Linked DNA regions of Homo sapiens: region 1 is linked to region 2. Evidence: promoter capture Hi-C in 16 types of primary human blood cells and fetal thymus (Javierre and others, 2016). All regions are on one chromosome and are shown on one strand. Each heading gives the region's core, a stretch centred on a gene start or on the middle of the fragment in contact. The rest is flanking DNA. Distances are from core to core; before and after follow the strand shown. Region 1 holds the start of RBMX (RNA binding motif protein X-linked). Region 2 holds the start of INTS6L (integrator complex subunit 6 like).

Region 1 (6,947 bases), core at 2,448-4,947, 1.4 Mb after region 2:
TTGCTTCATCAAGAATATGACCATTATTGGGCCGGGCACAATGGCTCACGCCTGTAATCCCAGCACTTTGGGAGGCCAAGGCGGGCGGATCACCTGAGGTCAGGAGTTCAAGACCAGTCTAACACGGTAAAATCCTGTCTCTACTAAAAATACAAAAATCCAGGTGTGGTGGTGCATGCCCGTAATCCCAGCTACTTGGGAGGCTGAGGCAGGACAATCGCCTGAACCTGGAAGGCAGAGGTTGTGGTGAGCCAAGATCGTGCCACTGCACTTCAGCCTGGGCAACAAGTGCTAAACTCTACCCCCCCCCCCCCAAAAAAAAACCATTATTGATTTGGGTAGTCTAGTTTCACTTGTACTTGATGGAGCATGCACTGCAGTCATAGAAACTGGGGAAATAAGAACTGAAGGTAGTCTTAAAAAACTTTTTTTTTTTTTTTTTGAGAGGGAGTCTCGCTGTTCCCCCAGGCTGGAGTACAGTGGCACGATCTCAACTCACTGCAACCTCTGCCTCCCAAGTTCAAGTGATTCTTCTGCCTCAGCCTCCGTAGTAGCTGGGATTACAGGCACCTGCCACCACGCCCAGCTAACTTTAAAAAATAAAAATGATTTCATTTTCATGTCCAACACCCTGGCCTATCAATTTTTAAATGCCTTTCCTACAGAGTGAACTACTTGGACAAGAAGTAACACTGTCCACGGTTTAACACCATAATCTAAAACATGCTTCCCATGCTTTCAATTGGCAATCACTTTGGTAGATGAACAAGTGTTGTCAATTTCAAAAGTTGGCACCTTTCCTCAAGGACTTAACCAAAGCATCCACTTGGTGTGAGCTTGCAGTCCCTAACTTATACACCAAACCCGAGGTCCACGCAAGTTATTACCCATGTGTCCTCCCCGTGAGGGAGGTCCCCTGGTTCCTCCACTTCCTCCTCTTCCACCTCTAAGACCTCTTGGAGGGCCTCTACTTCTTGGAGGTGGAGGCGGTCCACGTCTACCACTTTCAAATGATGGTTTGGTGGCTTGTTCCACCTTGATGGCTTTTCCATCTAATGACTAAAAAAAAAGATACGATTAAATTAAATCAAGATTTAAAAATAATTTGCACATCTACTATGCACTAAGACACTAACTGGTCCTTCAAAATGCAGTTATGGGTAAGTGTTGCTCATTAGTCTAAGAAAAAACACTGCAAATATAGTCAGTTTACATAAATGGGGCTTTTCCGCTTAAAATTCTTAATACTTAAAACCGATACTGATGATCTGGATTGAAACATAAGGTGAACCCACTGCATTATTGTATGGTAAAATTTAAAACAAGGCCAAGTAGGTATCAGCTTGTTATCAAAACTAGTAGCCAAAACCAAAAGCCAAGTTATCAAAATATGGCTTATGGATCTCAAGATAAAATGTATCATGTTGGCTGGGCGCAGTGGCTCGCAGTGTCTCACACCTGTAATCCCAGTACTTTGGGAGGCGGAGGCAGCTGGATCACCTGAAGTCAGGAGTTTGAGACCAGCCTGGCCAACATGGTGAAACCCTGTCTCTACTAAAAATACAAAGTTAGCCGGGCGTGGTCGCGCATGCCTGTAATCCCAGCTACTGGGGGGGGGGGGGGGGGCTGAGGCAGAAAAATCGCTTAGAACTCGGGAGACAGGCTGCAGTGGGCACTGCACCATTGCACTCCAGGCTAGGCAACGGAGGGAGACTATCAAAAAAAAAAAAAAAAAAGTACCATGTAATGCCATAATTATTCTGAACTGAGAGAATGTTACGAGCATAAGATATAACTCACTACTAGATTTGGTTCTGCAATTACAGAATACTCTTTGGAACAGGATCACAAACAGGATGAGTGGATCCCAGACAGGTATATACTGAAAAACAACGAAAACTCAAAAGCTGTCCTAGACCAGACTTGGACAACTACATGTTATTTTATGCACTAGTAACAGGTTATCATCCATCGTGTAGACAATCTCACCTTTCCATTCATGTCTCTGGCTGCATCCTTAGCGTCTGCTGGGCTTTCAAAGGTGACAAAAGCAAATCCTCTTGATTTGTTGGTTTCACGGTCTTTCATCAAGAGTACTAAAAAGTAGTTTTCAGAAAAATAAAGTGTTACCCTAGGTCAAATGAAATAACCAAAGTAAATGTGTAAACAGAAAGCTCAGAACTTCTTAGAGGACAAAAATACATTATCATGTCAGACGATCAATGCAATCAAATTCATCATAGCTTATATTTTAATTATAATAGCCCAGCCTGTACTGCCAGACAACTCACCTTCCACTATTCGTCCATATTTGCCAAATACTGCTTCAAGAGCTTTCTCATTTGTTTCCGTATTAAGCCCACCAATGAAGAGCTTTCCTGGGCGATCTGCTTCAACCATGTTTTTTTTTTTTTGGGCCGGTGAGTCTGTTGAAAAGGAATAGTATTACCTCACTGCAAAAAGTTCCTCAAGTTTATTGGACACTTTTACTTTCGCACATTTCTCATATTTTCCACTAAAACCATTGTTCCTTAATAACTAAAGAAAACGATAACGAGCTAAGCCTCAGCCACAGTAGGAAGCAATTTGAACTAAGTAGTTTAGTAACACTGCAATTTACATAAAACTGGTTAAAAGGGCCAACTTAACTTTTACCACTACCCTTGATCACCCTTAGCTGTTCTTAAGCAACAGCTGCTTAACATTTGAAAAAGCAACTTTTAGTTCCAGTCCTCTTGCCTTTGAAAGATTCAATTACTCATCACACCCTTCCTAACGATGGTTTTAAAAGACTCCCAAGGTCACAGGCTAGACACAGGACCTTAACACCAAGCCCTCTTCCAACGACTCCTCTTTTCCTCATTAGGATTCCCTACTAAATCCAAGGAGAAATGTGAAGTTTAAGCCAAGTTATGCCGCCCCTCTTCTTCACCGGCCCCCGCCCTACCGAAAATTCTACTATCCGGCCAAAAAGATAAAAACAAATCGTCAACATCGTTTGCTATTAAGTAACGGAACGCGGACGCACACACTAACACTCGACACTCCGTGACTGCAGCGGAACCTAATTAAAACTCGTCATTAAAAACCGCGTGTAAAAGACAAAATGGCGACACTTGGATTCAACCCAGAACCACCGACACTGGTCAGGGGACTAACTTTTACCACCAACATTGGCTGGGAACATTCAGAGGGCTTCTTCTCCGGGGCCGCCAATGAATACGAAGCCCGCAGCCCGCATGGAAGTCCACATGCCCATCATTAGCGCCAGCGCCATACCAATGCAGGTATCGCCGTGGTGCGGTCGCTCCTCGCCCCGCTCCAGCCTACAAAGCCCCGACCTCCGCTACCAACTCCCGCAGATGGCAGCCAAACTTTCTCGAGAAGCATACAACCAAACGGGCCCCCTCATTTGTTTTCCCTCGACCCCCTCAGCTTTATTTAAATAGGTCGGAACCTTTGGGTTCTTAAAATGGCGCCCGCCACCCCCATCTCCAGGGAGATATAATCCCCAGTCCTAACACGGGGAGAGTGTCACGAAAAACGGACTGAGGAAAGGAGACACGTACCGGAGGGGTGACAATGGGTTCAAGCTCCAACGAGCTCGGCGATAGGGGCTTCCTAGCAGCTCAGCACCAGTGGCGGCTGCCGGGTGCGAGGACCGAACCGCGAAGCCGCTAGCACTACTGCGCAACGAGGGCGAACAAAGGAGACAGCAAACTTTATACTGCCCGGGAACGAGGCTGAAGGACCCGGATGGAAACGGAGCTTAGAATTTGAAACGCAAAGGGAGGGGGGAAGTAGTTCCCAGTCTCCCCATTGGCTGGCTCCTCTGTCATTCACCCTTCTCTCCTCCCTTTTTCCCGGGCCCTCGGTGTTGGGTCGACAGACCTTTCTAACCGTTTTCTCTACCCCCACCCGTTCTTTACAAACGCGCTTTTTTTGCTTTACGCTAAAATGGTGCACAGGCTTCCTTTAATAAAGAACTGAAGTTTATTGAGCGTCCTAGTGGGCCGGGCACGGTGCAAAACTTTACTTTTACTTTTCCATTAACTCTTCTAATTGTCAAAATGTGATGAGGGTAGATACTCCTACTATACCAATTTTGCAGAAACGGAAAACAAAGAAGTTTTGGCAATATAATATATTTTCAAAAATTGTCTTTAACAAGTGTTTTTAGTGAGTGTGGGAATTTCTGATAAATACATGTAAATTTCAGATGAGTAAAAAACGTACAAAACAGCATGCAGATAGTACATTCATATAGAACAATTACTGAGCACCTTGTAAATGGTGGGCTCTGGGCTAGGCCAGGAAAATACAACTCCAGGGAAAAGACAAGAGTCAGGCCTGTGGGTAAGGATGCCGGATTTAATAAATGAAAATACCAGGCCGGGTGCAGTGGCTCACGCCTGTAATCCCAGCACTTTGGGAGGCCAAGGTCGGTGGATCACGAAGTCAGGAGATGGAGACCATCCTGGCTAACACGGTGAAACCCCGTCTCTTTTTAAAAATACAAAAAATTACCCAGGCGTGGTGGCACGCGCCTGTAGTCCCAGCTACTCGGGAGGCTGAGGCAGGAGAATCCGGGAGGCGGAGGTTGCAGTGAGCCAAGACTGCGCCACCGCACTCCAGCCTGGGCAGGCGACAGAGCGAGACTCCGTCTCAAAATAAAAAAGAAAATGCGGGACGCTAATTTATTCTGCGAAGCTGTTAAAAAATTTTAAATAAAAATATGGGACGCGGCCGGGGCGCGGTGGCTCATGCCTGTAATCCTAGCACTTTGGGAGGCCGAGGCGGGCAGATTGCCTGAGCTCAGGGGTTTGAGACCAGCCTGGGCAACATGGTGAAACCCCGTCTCTACTAAAATAAAAATAAAAAATAAAAAAATTAGCCGGGCGTGGCGGCGTGTGCCTGTAGTCCCAGCTACTCGGGAGGCTGAGGCAGGAGAATTGCTTGAACCCAGGAGGCGGCGGTTGCAGTGAGCCAAGATCATACCACTGCACTCCAGCCTGGCAACAGAGCGAGACTTCGTCTAAAAAAAAAAAAAGGGACGCCCAGTTAAGTTTAAATTTCAGATAACGAATACTTTTTTTAGTATAGTATGTCCCAAATCTCATATTTTAAAAATTCGCTGTTTATCGGAAATTCAAATTTAACTGAGCATTCTATATTTCATCTGCCCATCCTACTTGTTGAGGGGGGAAACCAAAAAATTTTTTAATTTTTTTCTTAAAGAAATTGAATACAATTAACAAAAGAATGGCATGTTGTGATTAATGCCAGGGAGGAAATAAACTAGTTGCTTTGATGGACAATATTAGGGAGAACAAATTTGATTAAAACATCAGGGAAGGTCTATGTGAAGAGGTGACTTTGGAGATCAGAGCTGAAGGAAGAAAAGAAACTAGCTATGGGAACAGCTGAGGGAAAAACCTTCAGGAAAAGAAGAGAATAGTAAACACAAAGTAGAGAGGAAGAGCTTGGCATATATCAAGGGACAGAAAGAGGGCCAGGTGACAAGAATATGAGGGGCATGAAATGAGGGAGCCAAGATTGGCAGGACCTTTGAGCCCATTAAATGACTGTAGGGGGTAAGTGTGGGAAAAAGGACACTAATAGGGCTGTGGGAGCAGACCAGAAAGAGAGGATGGTGGCTTGAATCAGGGTGGCGGCAGTGGACACGGGGAGGAAAGAACAATTGTTAGATGAATATGATAGGTATCGTGTTTAATGGTGCTATGGTCTAAATGTTTGTGTCCTCCCCCAAATTCATATGTTGAAATCCTAATACCCAAGGTGATGGCATTAGGAGGCGGGGATTTGGGGAGAAGATTAGGTCACAAAAGGGTAGGGTCCTCATGAATGGGATTAACACTTTTATAAAAGAGGCCCCTGTCCACCATGTGAGAACACAGTGAGGTGCCACTTATATGAACCAGAAAACTGGTGGTGGTGGGCCCTCACCAGACACTGAATATGCTGGCGTCTTTATCTTGGACTTCCCAGCCTACAAAAATGTGAGAAATAAATTTCTGTTGTTTATAAGCCAGCCAGTTTATGGTATTTTGTTATAGTAGCAGGAATGGACTAAGACAGATGGGAAAGGGGTGGGGAAGAATTGCGGAAAAAGAAAATCATTATGGATGACTCCAAGTATCTGGTATTAGTGGGACAGATGGTAACAGTCATTTACCAAAATGGTTTCAGAGGAGCAAGTTTGGGATATAGGGGCAGAAAAATCTGAAGCTCAGAGCATAGATCTGTGCTAAATTATCATCTCAGAGATGTAATAAAAGCCATCAGAATGAATGAAACCACCAAACAAGAGAGTACAGTGGGAAAAGAAGGCCCAAGATCACATAATATGAGCTATTAAAAAAATACATATGGAGACAAAATAACTGGGAGGAAATATGCCAAAATGTTACCAGTTTATCTTGGAGTGGTAGAATTTATGGACAATTTTCACTTTTCTTCTTCTTCTTCTCCTTTTTTTTTTGTTTGTTTTTTTGTTTTTTTGAGAAAGAGGTTCGCTCTCATTGCCCAGGCTAGAGTGCACTGGTGCGATCTTGGGTCACTGCAACCTCTGCCTCCCGGGTTCAAGCGATTCTCCCGTCTCCGCCTCCTGAGTAGCTGGGATTACAGGCATACGCCACCATGCCCGGCTAATTTTGTATTTTTAGTAGAGACAGAGTTTCACCATGTTGGCCAGGCTGGTCTCAAACTCCTGACCTCAGGTGATACGCCCGCCTCGCCCTCCCAAAGTGCTGAGATTACAGGCCTGAGCCACCGTGCCGGGCCTTTTCTTCTTCATAGTTACAATTACCTGCCCATGGTGAATTTTGGTATATGCCAGGCAGGTTGTAGTAAATAATATTCAGGTCACGGGTAAAAGCCCCCAAGGAGCTTCGAAACCAGCTCTGAATTATTAACATTAATAGGGG
Region 2 (6,975 bases), core at 4,046-6,545:
AAATAACACAGTCCTTGTGGAGACAGTGAGAGGAAAGGAGGTAGCCATGGAGTGAGACAAAGATTAAGTTTAAGAGTCAGTGAAGGTGGAAACAAATGGTCCAAGGTGTAGAAAGACCCCAGGTGAAATTGCAGGAGATGAAAAACAAGGTAGTTGGGAGTAGGAGCTCAGGAAGGCATGTAACAAGCTCTGCAATCAACAAAGGACATACAGAACACACCATTGGACTTGGCCAGCCAGAAGTAGGCCATTGGGGACCTCTGGGCAGTTTCCATGGAGTGCAGGGAAAGAAACCAGATTACATGGGCTTGAGGAGACACAGGGTGGTGGAGAAACCAGACAGGGAGATTTTACTGCCCTCTAAACCATGAAAGGTGGGCTTTGGGAGGGAGTAGTAACCAGGTTAAGTAAGGTCTTTTTGTCAAGATGTAGTAATTAGGGCCAGGCCTGGTGGCTTATGTCTATAATCCCAGCATTTTGGGAGGCTGAGTTGGGATGATTGGTCGCATCCAGGAGTTCAAGACCAGCCTGGGCAACATAGTGAGACCCCATCTCTATAAAAAAAATTAAACATTAGCCAGGCATGGTGGCAAGCACCTGTAGTCCCAACTACACAGGAGGCTGAGGTGGGAGGATCACTTGAGCCAGAGAGGTTGAGGTTCTAGTGAGTTGTGATCACACCACTGTACTCTAGCCTGGGTGACAGAGTGTGACCCTGTCTCAAAAATAAAAATAAAAATATAGTGATTAGGGACTGCTTAAAGACAAGAGGTGACAAAACTTAGGAGAGTGAAAAATCAAACTGACTCTCACCAAAACAAAGCATCAGCTGTATGGTGGTGGACCACACCACAACATAAAATGTAAACATGGGGCAAAGTCTGTGGACATTTATGTGAACAGAATGAAGGCCAGGAGAGCAGTATATGAAGAGCAAGGACTTGAAGAGGAAAGAGGAAACTCTTTTCAAGAGCTCACAAGTTGAAAAAAAGTGAGAAAATTGAAAAGAAGATAGGATGGTTAATGCAGGCCATAGAGGCTGAAATTTGGGAGCAGTTGGAAAGAGGATTTGACTGAAGGAGACAAACAGTGAGCAGTGGCCCCAGAAAGAGCCATTTCATAAGGAAGCATGAGTAGAACAAAAGGGAAGTTGCCAGGGTTCTGGGTAAGCAGTAAGGACTGTCAGTTCAATGCTTTGGCCTGAAGGGGCCTCCTGGAGCCCAAATCCAAATGGCCCGGGATCCACAGGGACAGGGGAGCTGGGTCTACCACCCTGCTCCCATGAAAGATGGCAGGCAGGGGGCAACACAGGAGGGCTGGGTAACCCTAGGAAAGGAGCTACAGGATAATACCCCAAGCACCTGGAAAGATGATGAAAGAATGAAAACCACAGCACATTTGACAATTTCTTTCAATAACCATTTATGGAGCAAGTACTTTGCACCAGGCATTGGTTATAGGCTCTAGCTGCTCTCAAGGAGTTTACATTCTAGTGCAAGAAACAAACCCATGGCAGAAATAACCTATAACACGAAGAGGCTGATGTTCTGTAGCAGAGAAAGATGTAGAAAGGGCTTTGTATGGTTTAGTGTTGATGTATGCCAAAGAAACACAGTGGAGAAGTCTACACAATTTCTAGCATAATACAGAACTTACTTTCCTCCAGGAAGTGATGAAGAGAAGGTTCTTGGTGACAGCTTGGGGATTGGTTTAATCTGAATAAGCCCATAAATCCGTTACATCATTTTTGTTTTTGTTTTTTGTTTTTTTTTTGTATATTGCCATTTTTGTAGTTTATACTGAGACACAAATATTTTTCAATTCTATGTTGACATCATTTCAATTCCATTTGCATTTATGCCAGAAAAAATCAATAACATGTCTTGTTAGAAAAAAAAAAAAATTAAAAGGCATTCACCTGCATGGGGAGAATATCTTGTCCCTAGAAGGTCACTCTGTGGCACCATGCATATCCTTGACCACAGGAGCATTGTGTGACTGAGACTATTTGTGTTTCACTAATGCTGGTAAGCCGTTTTTGAAAATTGTCTCAGTAATATTCAAGTTGGAAGAACTTTTTACAATTCTTTTAATGTAATTTTTAACATAGCCCCTTTTCTGATTATAAAAGTAAGGCACACTCATTGAAAAGTTGGGAGGAAAGTATAAAGGAGATATTTTAATGTCATCTTAAAATACCATTTGTAAACTGGGGTATATCATGGCTCAGCAGTCCTTATTCTCCTCTCTCATACACACATACACATATAGATATTCACAAAATAAAATATAAACTCCTCATAGGAAATCTTGTAATTCTTCAACCAAAGGCTAGTCTAAGCAACAAGTCAACCCAATGCATTTATTCGGTGGGCTGAAAGTTTGTACAGTATTACTCAAAATTGACTTTAACAGGCAGGGCACGGTGGCTCACACCTGTAAACCCAGCAATTTGGGAGGCCGAGGTGGGTGGATCGCTTGAAGTCAGGAGTTTGAGACCAGCCTGGCCAACATGGTGAAACTCCATCTCTACTCAAAATATAAAAATTAGCTGAGCATGGTAGCACATGCCTCTAGTACCAGCTACTCAGGAGGCTGAGGCAGGAGAATCGCTTTAAGCTGGGAGGCAGAGGTTGCAGTGAGCCGAGATCATGCCACTGTACTGCAGTCTGGGCGACAGAGCAAGATTCCATCTCATAAAAACTGTGAACTAGGCAAAGTTTGTTTCCAGGAAATAATCACATCCCCATCTTAATAATCCCATCCCTATCTAATATTAGGCACAATTCTTAGCTGGCCCCATGATCTCCAATCCTTGGTGTTACATCCTGTATAATATTCTTTCCTTGAGTGTGGGTGGGACCTGTGACTTGCTTCTAGTTGAGATTATCTACATTACATAAGGCTCCATCTTGGAGTAAGAGATTTCTCTGCTGGCCCTGAAGTAGCAGCTATGTTGTGAACAGCCAATGGAGAAAGCCATATGGCAGAGACCTGCAACAGAAGGTGGACCTGAAGGTGGCCTCTGGTCACCAGCAACAGCCCCAAGGAAATGAATTCTGCCAGAAATCTGAATGAGCCTGGAAGCCAGTTCTTTCCCAGGTGAACCTCCAGATGAAAACAGCCTGGCTGACACGTTGACTGCAGACTTATGAGACTAAGTAGAGAACCCAGGTAAACTTAGACCTCTGACTCATGGAAACTGTGAGATAGTAAATGCTTGTGTTGTTTTAAGCCACTAAATTTGTAATAATTTGTTAAACAGCAGTAGAAAACTAACACACTGCCCCCAACAGTCCTATATTTTTTGTACCCTAGCCCATGTAGGCATTGCCCTTCTACACTGACATTTGTATCGGAATGGAAATGGGGGCTTCTAGTATCTTTTTCATCCTTATTTCTTCATTAATTCCCTACTTTCCACCAGAATGGCCTGAAATGCACCATACATAGTACTATCTTTGGCTGAGTTTTTGTTCATATCATTCCTTCCAACCCAGATTCCCTCTCTTCCCTTTTTGTGCCTTGTTCGTGAAATCCTATGAATTTCTAGACTGGACCATTGTTTCCATAGCACTTTTTAACTTGCATCCTTGTTTGTCCCTGATTCATATACTGCCATATGACTTCTTTTAAAATCGTATTTCTCTGAGAATGTTATTGAATGTGCATATATAATATATGAAACATATACACAGAACATACATATATATATAGAGAGAGAGAGAGAGAGAGAGAGTGTATATAAAATATATAAAATACTTTTTTGAGATGTTATCTCATTCTGTTGCCCAGGCTGGAGTGCAGTGGTGTGATCTCAGTTCACTGCAACCTCCGTCTCCTGGGTTGAAGTGATTCTCCTGCCTCAGCCTCCCAAGTAGCTGGGACTACAGGCGCCTGCTCCCATGCCCGGCTAATTTTTGTATTTTTAGTAGAGACGGGGGTTTCACCATGTTGGCCAGGCTGGTCTCAAACTCCTGCCCTCAAATGATCCACCCACCTCGGCCTCCCAAAGTGCTGGAATTACAGGCATGAGCCACTGCGCCTGGCCAAAATATATAAAATATTATGTATGTATATGTCATCATCTCTCCTCAATGAAACTGCAAACTCATTGAAGTCCTGGATTCCACATTGTCAATAGTAATTGCCAGGAATACACAAGTCCAATTTTTAAAATTGTGTCATATGAAGTAGTCAATCAAGTGTGGTTGGCCACTTACTGAGTCTCTTCACAGAGCCAGACCTGAGAGTATCCGTAATTGTTACCCTAACCTCAGGGAGCTGCATTTTCCTCTACTGAAAATTGAATACAATGCCATCTGCCATAATTAATTCAAAGATTAAACAAGGCTACCGTGGGTGCCTGGCTCTTCATAGGCACTCAATAAATGTGAGTTGAGAGCCTGCCCCTGTGGTCCCAGCTACTTGAGAGGCTGAGATGGGAGGATCGCTTAAGCCCAGGAGCTGGACGCTGCAGGCAGCTATGATGGGGCCACTGCACTCCAGCCTGGGCGATCAAGCGAGATCCTCTTTATTTATTTATAAAAATAAATAAATAAATAAATATGTGAGTTGAATCACAATCTAGGTTTGCAAACCTCCATGTGTAAAGGCTGCGCAGAGGGAACAGTGGTGGAATTATCACAGGCAGGCCAATGTTTCAAAGAGCTTAGTGAAACTGAAGAAGCTTGTGCATACAAAAGGCCAGTTTAGGTAACTGTAACTGTGTTTAAGCTTTAGTTTCCTTTCTAAGTAGATATATGTGGAATGCAAGGCCAGCAACCAACTCACAAATACTGATCAAGACGGGGGAGGGATCTAAAGGAATGTGAGTACGTCCTGCCAGGAAAGAAGTTTGCTGCTTCTGAAATATTTTCGTCTTCGCCACTGGCAGGATTGATCGATTGCAGTTAGCGAAGAATTTTCTGTGCAAACTGTCCAAGCATCTGCTTCTGTACTTCTGTACAACTGTTGCTCAAATTCACTCTTCTTTTCGAATCACCATCTTTGAAGAGAGACAGAAAAATCCATTTAAACCACCCGAACTAATCATTCGAACTGCTTCCAAGTCCTTTAAAGGAGAATCCTAGCGAGGGTCCGTAACACTTCCCCTTACCCTCTGCCTGGGTTCAAACTTCAACTCCCAGGGTTCGCCCAAGTCCCTCCCCTAGTCCTGTCATCTAATGAATATGCAAATACCACATAATTGGCAGCCAATGGCATGGGTTCTGGTCACATGGTGCCGATGGTAGGTGAGCAGACAGAAGTTGTCAGTGAACAGAGACGGCGCTCAGTCTGGGGCGAGCGCTCTAGTGAGCGCGGACGGATGCTTAGGCAGTAGTCCTGGCAGCGGCAGTAGTGGTGGCAGCAGAAGAGAGGAAGGGGGAGGGCCCCGAGGGCTACACACGCTCACACTTTCAAGTTCCCTTGGAGGGAGAGGAGGTGGGGCTGCAGAAAGAGGAGGCCAGGAGCGGTCCCATCCGTCCCGTCCCGTCCCGTCTCCCCCTCTTCCTCTTGCTCCTTGCTCCCCGGCTCTGCGAGAGTTGAGGGTTCAGGTGGCCGTACGCGGCAGTGAGGGCAAGAGGGCCGGGAGAGTGGGGAGCGGAGGCAGGAGTGCGGGGGAAGATGCCCATCCTGCTGTTCCTCATAGACACGTCCGCCTCTATGAACCAGCGCACTGACCTGGGCACCTCTTATTTGGACATTGCCAAAGGCGCTGTGGAGTTATTCTTGAAGGTAAAGGGAGGGGAGGGGAGAGATGGGGAGAGCTCCCGAGGGATTTCAGGGTGTGGATTGAGGTGCTTCTGTAACGTTTGTATCGCCCTCCCCCCTCCTTTCCTACGCGACCCCCTCCGTCATCCCTTGCCCCGCAGCTGCGCGCCCGGGACCCGGCCAGCCGTGGAGACAGGTACATGCTGGTCACCTACGACGAACCCCCGTACTGCATCAAGGTAAAGGGGCTACGGGTGGGGGGACAGGCGGGAAGCGGGAGCAAGTCGGCGGGGGCTGCTTACCCCCCTGCCCCCGCCTAAGGCGGTCCTGCGTCGCCCGGCGGGGCGGGCGGCGAGGGGGTGCGCAGAGGGCGGGCGGAGTGGTGCCGTCGGCGGCTTCGGAGTAGCTGTCGCGCCTGGGGTCGGGGAGAGGGGACCGGGGAGGAGCAGCCCCGGGGAGAAACCGCAGGAGGGCCGAGCTCGTGGCGCGACAACCGCAGCCGCCTCGGAACATGGCGGACATTTTGCTTTTGTATGAGCCTGCGAGAGGGAGACTGAGGGCGCTGCTGAGATGGAAAGGAGGGAGGGGAGGGAGGAGCGGGGAAGGAGGGCCCGAAACCCGGAGGGAGGCTGCGAGGCGGGCCCGCCCCTTCGAGGCGCACCGCGCGAGGGTCGCCGCGCGGGGGGCCGGACGGAGCCTGCGACTCCGCCCCGAGGTCCTGCCGGCCGGGCGCGCGGGCTTTCCCGGAGCCTGGGCTCCTCCTCTGGCCCCTCCTTCCTCCCCCGGTCTTCCTCCCCCTCCTTGGGCTCTTCGCTGCATCTCCTCCTTCTCCCCCTCTTCCTCCTGGTCCCCTCCCCTTCCTGCTGAGAGCGTGGCAGAGCCAGCCGCCGGCCTTCAAAGACTAGACAACCGCCTTTGCACTCGTTGGCCTCTCACCACCCCCGCGCAATCGGAAATCTGTCCGCGACGCCAGTCTCCCCACCCCCAGACCCGGAGAAAGTCTTTGCGTTTCTGCTCCGGAATTGGCCAGGTTCAGCCCCGCTCTCAGTTACCTTAGCTACTGTTACTGTTTCATTGGAAATTCCAGCGAAGCAACGACACGGAGGGGGACGTGCCAAGTGCGAACCCACAGGGGCAGAGCTTTTTAGGGATCCGCTCTACCTATTTACATCATAAATTAGGTTTGTGCTAGCCACGTAGGAATTAATCCAGGGACAAGAAAGAAAGGAAGGGGAGGACTCAAATGTGAGCATTTGTAAT

Evidence for each region. Contacts are between HindIII fragments. The CHiCAGO score rates a contact against its expected background, and 5 or more counts as called.
Region 1: a contact is called between the fragment with the promoter of RBMX here and the fragment with the promoter of INTS6L in region 2, in 2 of 17 cell types (fetal thymus and erythroblasts). The highest score is 7.3, in fetal thymus.

Annotation. Positions count from the first base shown.
Region 1 is chrX:136,877,028-136,883,974 of GRCh38, forward strand. It overlaps RBMX (RNA binding motif protein X-linked), which reads right to left and starts at 3,698. Exons shown (of 9, transcript NM_002139.4): 1 at 3,570-3,698; 2 at 2,292-2,426; 3 at 1,990-2,096; 4 at 888-1,059. The coding sequence starts at 2,400. It overlaps SNORD61 (small nucleolar RNA, C/D box 61), which reads right to left and starts at 2,244; the gene lies at 2,172-2,244. RefSeq lists enhancers at 2,623-3,222, 3,024-3,083, 3,094-3,553, 3,223-3,821. The HindIII fragment of the contact is 13,799 bases long and covers 1-6,947 here.
Region 2 is chrX:135,515,365-135,522,339 of GRCh38, forward strand. INTS6L (integrator complex subunit 6 like) reads left to right here and starts at 5,296. Exons shown (of 18, transcript NM_001351601.3): 1 at 5,296-5,739; 2 at 5,877-5,954. The coding sequence starts at 5,629. It overlaps INTS6L-AS1 (INTS6L antisense RNA 1), which reads right to left and starts at 5,310. Exons shown (of 2, transcript NR_046740.1): 1 at 5,203-5,310; 2 at 4,719-5,008. RefSeq lists enhancers at 5,450-5,529, 5,560-5,619 and silencers at 5,870-6,139, 6,200-6,399. The HindIII fragment of the contact is 2,771 bases long and covers 4,736-6,975 here.